Linked DNA regions of Homo sapiens: region 2 is linked to region 1. Evidence: promoter capture Hi-C in human tissues and cell types (Jung and others, 2019). All regions are on one chromosome and are shown on one strand. The core of a region is centred on a gene start or on the middle of the fragment in contact, and the rest is flanking DNA. Distances in the headings are between cores, read along the strand shown.

The links. The method cuts DNA at HindIII sites, captures the fragments that hold promoters and counts their contacts. A contact is called where the count stands out against the background at its distance.
Region 2: a fragment that was not itself captured here is called in contact with the fragment with the promoter of SCN3A in region 1 in 1 of the 25 tissues and cell types used here (mesenchymal stem cells).

The regions. Positions count from the first base shown.
Region 1 is chr2:165,202,533-165,205,351 of GRCh38, reverse strand. SCN3A (sodium voltage-gated channel alpha subunit 3) reads left to right here and starts at 1,302. Exons shown (of 28, transcript NM_006922.4): 1 at 1,302-1,529. The HindIII fragment of the contact is 11,221 bases long and covers 1-2,819 here.
Region 2 is chr2:165,048,705-165,051,830 of GRCh38, reverse strand. No RefSeq gene overlaps it. Among named protein-coding and RNA genes, the nearest start is that of SLC38A11, 95 kb to the right of the region's middle. The HindIII fragment of the contact is 4,338 bases long and covers 1-3,126 here.

The sequences.
Region 1 (2,819 bases), core at 53-2,552:
TGGATCATGCAGGACTCCTGGCCTCAGTGGATGCCCATGTGGAGAAAGGGGGAACGGGATCATACTCTGCTTTCTCTATATATGTACACAATCCTGAACTTAGATCAGTCTCCATGAGAAGGAGAGATAGAAGAGGAAAATCATGTATTGGTTGAATGCAAACCCAAAATCATTGGGAAAAGCCTCAAGTAATTTAGTTTACCTGGAACTGACTAGATTTATTTTTCTGCCATTAGACAAAATGGGGGCCACAATTGAAAACGAAGTATGTAATTAACAGTTCTTGAACACATGGCTGGGAAATATGGTATCAGCTATATTTGTTTTTCTTCTTTGTATGAGCTCCTTTATGGCAGGCACTGTGTGTTTCTCTCTGTGTCTTTTCAAGTCTAATATAATACTTGACATCATTTTTGTCCATCCATACAGTTGGTTTGTCAATATGAATGTATTTATTTAATTGATGATAAACTGTAATAAAATCATAGTTGTTTGCTCTAAAGTAGATATGAAAGGTCAGATGAAACAATAACATACATCTGGATTGAGAAATATCTTAATAACTGATGGATTATTTTTATTTTCTTTATGTATTGTGTGCTTCAATATCCTAATAAATAATATTAGCTAGGTTCACTGATGTATAGAATCTTTTTCTACATTTAGATATTTCTTGCAAATGTTTTACCAGAAAGCAACACAAAAATACTATCAGTGAGTATGTGTTTACACTGTTCTCTAAGGAGTCAAATTCCTCACCTTGAAAATAATTCATCCCAGGAAGAGAAAAGGTTTTCAAAAGACTAGAGCAGGCCACAAGGGAGCTTTCGCAAAACTCTACACGTAAAGGGTAATGTAAACTTAAAACCTATTTTTCAAACAGTAATTTATATATCTTTTAATTTTAGTAGTTTATGTGTGAAACAATCATGCAAAACAACAAAGTGATAAAATTTTTTAAAAAAATTAGTGAGATGCAAATAACTGAATATGTAAAAGGTCTCATACATATTTATATGTAGTAGATAAGTTACATTTTTTTAGTGTGTTGGGAAATTTTAGCTCACATCACCTCTCTACTGTCATCTTGGGGCACTTTCATGACTACCCATGCTTCATGCAGGTTTACTTTCCTCCCTGTGACAGAGGATAATGGGAATGTTTTTTCTTTGGCTCAATTTTGTGTGTGTCCGCCAGTAGATGGCGGTACCACTTTGAGTGCGATCGGCCTTTTTTTCTTTCTTTTTTTTTTTCCTCAAAGCTGTTTTCTGATATATGTTGGGTACCATAGAGTGAATCTCAGAACAGGAAGCGGAGGCATAAGCAGAGAGGATTCTGGAAAGGTCTCTTTGTTTTCTTATCCACAGAGAAAGAAAGAAAAAAAATTGTAACTAATTTGTAAACCTCTGTGGTCAAAAAAAAAAAAAAAAAAAAAAGCTGAACAGCTGCAGAGGAAGACACGTTATACCCTAACCATCTTGGATGCTGGGCTTTGTTATGCTGTAATTCATAAGGCTCTGTTTTATCAGGTAAGCTGACAAAACATTTCATTATCTGCACCATAGAACCTAGCTACCAGGTCATTTTCCTTACTTTAAAATCATCTTCATGCTGCTATTTTTAACCCAGTGTTGTTTAAATGTAAATTACAGGAACCAAAGGCATCGTTTGATGTGTAAACTGCTTACTATTTCTTTATCTTTCAAAGAAAATAGAGCCTGTCTGGAAATGGTGATTTATGGTACATACTAGGCATCAATGGTCTTGTGTTTTTGTAGATGCTTATGATTAATTGTATTCAGAAAAAATATTTTTTATTATACTTAAAGCTAGTCTAATGAGTTTCCTGGCTGTATGTCATCTATTTAAATGCCCAGTGTGTCCAGTATTTTTTAAACATAAATGTATAGTGAAATTGGAACTATCATTCTTGTGCTTTAGTTTTTTATTTAACAGCTTTAGAGAGGCCATGCATATAGGGAGTGATAACAATATAGAGGTGTTTGGCTTTGTGAAATACACTATCATTTTTCTCTAAAATCTGTTTTCATAGAGAAAAGAACACCAATACTAACCATTTAAAAGAGGTTGAACCTTCAAAAAATAAAATAATCTCTATATGTTCCATAATATGCTACTTCTTTATCCTTTAATATATTCATTTTATATTAAATGTTTACCTTTTAATTTATTGATTTAAAGATTATTATATATTCTTAATTGTTCTATAAGCTTGATAGATTGCTGTTTTTCTGTATATATTTAATAACTGTTTATTTTTATTAATTACCAGGAAGAACCACTGGAGCCATAAAACAATAATTTACTTTATCTATGATCCATATTGTCTGTAGTTGTATTTAGAATATTCTATATCATAACCATAAATGTTTCATTCAGTTAGCCACCACATAATTAGAATAAGAAATTATTGACAGAAAATCTATACATATTAATTGAAAGATAAGTTTTAAAAATCATACAGGGTTTTAAAATACACAACAGGTAGTATAATGTGGCTTATGAGGACAAAGATAAAGGCATAAGTGCTTGTAGGAATTTGCATGGAAACATTTCATCACATTCACTCCAAATAGAGTGTGCCCTATATGAAATGAAGACTTCTGATTTCAACAGGGCTTCCAGTCAGTACTGGCTAAAAGGGCTTCAAAAATAGAACTTAAGGCCTCCAAACTGTAATTCCTAATGATATGTTGAAAAATATTGACATCTCACTTAATATTTTACATTGAGTAGCAATAATAGTCCCCCCAAAAACATTTCAAAATAGTGGTTGCCTGAGAGGAGAGCCCTGGGTC
Region 2 (3,126 bases), core at 260-2,759, 150 kb after region 1:
GTGCTTTTCAAGGAACTGGTCCATTTCATCTAGGTTATTATTTTTATGGGCATAGCATTCTTCACAATGTTCCTTTATTGTCTTTTCAATATCCATGGAATCTGTGGTAATGTCCCCTCTTTGATTTTTGATATTAGTAATTTGTGTTCTCTCTCTCTCTCTCTCTTTTTTTCTTAGCCTGGCTGGAGGCATATTAGTTTTATTGATAATTTCAGAGAACAAGCTTTTGGTTTCGTTGATTTTCTCTGTTGATTTCCTGTTTTAAATTTCATTGATCTCTGCTTTATTTTTTATTATCTTTTTTCATCTACTTACTTTGAATTTAATTTGCTCTTCCATTGCTAGTTTCTTAAAGTAGAAACTAAGATTCTTAATTTTAAATCTTTCTTATTTTTTAATATATGCATTGAATGCTAAAAAATTTCCTCTAAGCACTACTTTCACTGCTGCATCCCCAAAATTTTGTTGTGCTTTTATTTTTATTTTATTAAATTTTTTTTTGTCATCTCTTGAAATTTCTCCTTTGATCCACATGTTACTTAGTGATGTTTTGCTTAATCTGCAAGTATTTTGGGATTTTTCCAGTTATCTTTTTGTTATTGATTTCTAGTTTAATTCCACTGTGTTCTGAGAGCAAACATTGTATGATTTCTATTCTTTAAAATTTATTAAAGTAGGTATTATCACCCAAAATGTGGCTTTTCTTGGTAAATATTCCATGTGAGCTTGAGAAGAATGTGTATTCTGCTATTGTTAGATGAAGTAGACTATAGATGTCAATTATATCCAGTTGATTAATAGTGTTGTTGAGTTCAACTACATTCTTACTGATTTTCTGTCTGTTGAATCTGTTCATTTCTAATAGAGAGGTGTTGAAGCCTCCAACTACATAGTGGATTCGTTTAGTTCTTCTCTCAGTTCTATCTGTTTTTGCCTCACTTGTTTTGATGCTCCTTTTTTAGGCACATGCAAGTTAAGCATTGTTATGTCTTCATGAGGAATTGACCCTTTATCATTATGCAATGCCTATTTTTATCCAATAAAGTTACTTGCTCTAAAGTCTATTTTGTCTGAAATTAATATAGGTATTACTGCTTTCCTTTGATTAATGTTAGCATGGTATAGGTTTTCTATTTCTTTACCTTTAATGTATATATGTCTTTATGTGTAATGTGAGTTTCTTGTAGACAACATAGAGCTGGAGATTATTTTTCCATCCACTCTGACAATTTATGGCTTTTGATTGTTATATTTGGAAAATGGACATTTAAAGTAATAAATGATATAGTTAAATTAATATCTACCATGTTTGTTACCATTTTCTATTTGTTGCCTTTGTTCTTCATTCCCTTTTTGTCTTTCATACTTTTTCTGCCTCTTTGCAGTTTTAATTGAGCCTTTTATATAATTCCATTTTCTCTCCTTTCTTAGCATACCAATTATACTTTATTTTTTACTTTTTTTTAGTTGTTGCCTTGGAGTTTGAATTATACATTTACAATTAATCCAAGTCTACTTTCAAATGCCACTGTATAGCTTCACAGGTGGTACAAGTATCTTATAGTAACAGAATAATCTCAATTCCTTTCTTCCATCCCTTGTATCATTATTGACATTCATTTCACTTATACATAAGTATACATAAGCATATCTAGATAGATAGTTGGATATAAGCATACACAGTTGAATTAATTGTTGTTATTATTTTGAACAAACTGTTATCTGTAAGGTCAATTAAAAATAAGAAAAATAGAAGTTTTTACTTTACCTTAACTTTTGCCTCCTCTGATGTTCTTTCTTTCTTTATATAGAACTAAGTATCTGACCTATATTATTTTCCTTCTTTCTAAAAAATGTCTTTTGACATTTCTTGCAAGGCAAGTCTACTGGCAACACATTTTCTCAGTTTTTGTTTGTCTAATATTTTTTCTTCACTTTTGAAGGAAAATTTTATAAGGTACTGACACCTAGGTTAGTGTTTTCTTTCTTTTAACCCTTGAATTTATTTCACTCCACTGTCTTCTTGCTTGCATGGTTTCTGAGGAGATGTTCGATGTAATCCTTATCTTTGGTTTTCTATAGATAAGATGTTCTTTTCTTCTGGCTTCTACCAAGATTTTTAATTTACCCTTGAATGTTTTTCTAGTTTGAATATGATATGCCTAGGCATAGCTCTTTTGGCATTTATCCTGCTCTGTGTTCTCTGAGTTTCCTGGATCTGTGGCTTGGTGTATGACATTAATTTAGGGAAATTTGCAATCACTTTAGGAGGCCAAGGATGGAGAATTGCTTGAGGCCAGGAAAGACCAACCTGGGCAACATAGTGAGACCCCATCTCTACAATTTTTTTTTTTTAATTAACTGGGCATGGTTGTGAGTGTTTGAAGTCCCAGTTACTCAGGCAACTAAGGTGGGATGATTGTTCGAGCCCAAGAAATGAAGGCTGCCATAAGCTATGATTGAACTACTGTACTCCAGCCTGAGAATCAGAATGAGACTCTGTCTCAGAAAATAATAATAATAATTTTTAATGTAAATACAATGGGCAGCTTTTAAACTTGAAGTTTTTCTGAAACTACAAAAATAATAGCTCTTGATTTGCTAGTGAATAGGTGATAAAGGGTGGTGTAGGAAGGTATGGACAAGATTTAAAGCAAAAATAAAAATAGATTTAATGGAAGTGTATTTGGTTAAAATGATACACTTCAGAATGTTTTTACTGCTCTATAAATGTCGGACCAAAAAGTAAAAATAACATAGTAGTTTAAGAATACTCAATATCACATAAATTGCTTCTAAAAATGGCCAAAAGTTTATCTGTTAAAAGCATTCACGGGCTGGGCGCAGTGGCTCATGCCTGTAATCCCAGCACTTTGGGAGGCCGAGGCGGGTGGATCGCGAGGTCAGGAGATCGAGACCATCCTGGCTAGCATGGTGAAACCCCATCTCTACTAAAAATACAAAAAATTAGCCAGGCGTTGTGGCCGGCGCCTGTAGTCCCAGCTACTTGGGAGGCTGAGGCAGGAGAATGGCGTGAACCCGGGAGGCGGAGCTTGCGTTGAGCCCAGATTGTGCCACTGCACTCCAGCCTGGGCAACAGAGCAAGACTCTGTCTCAAAAAAAAAA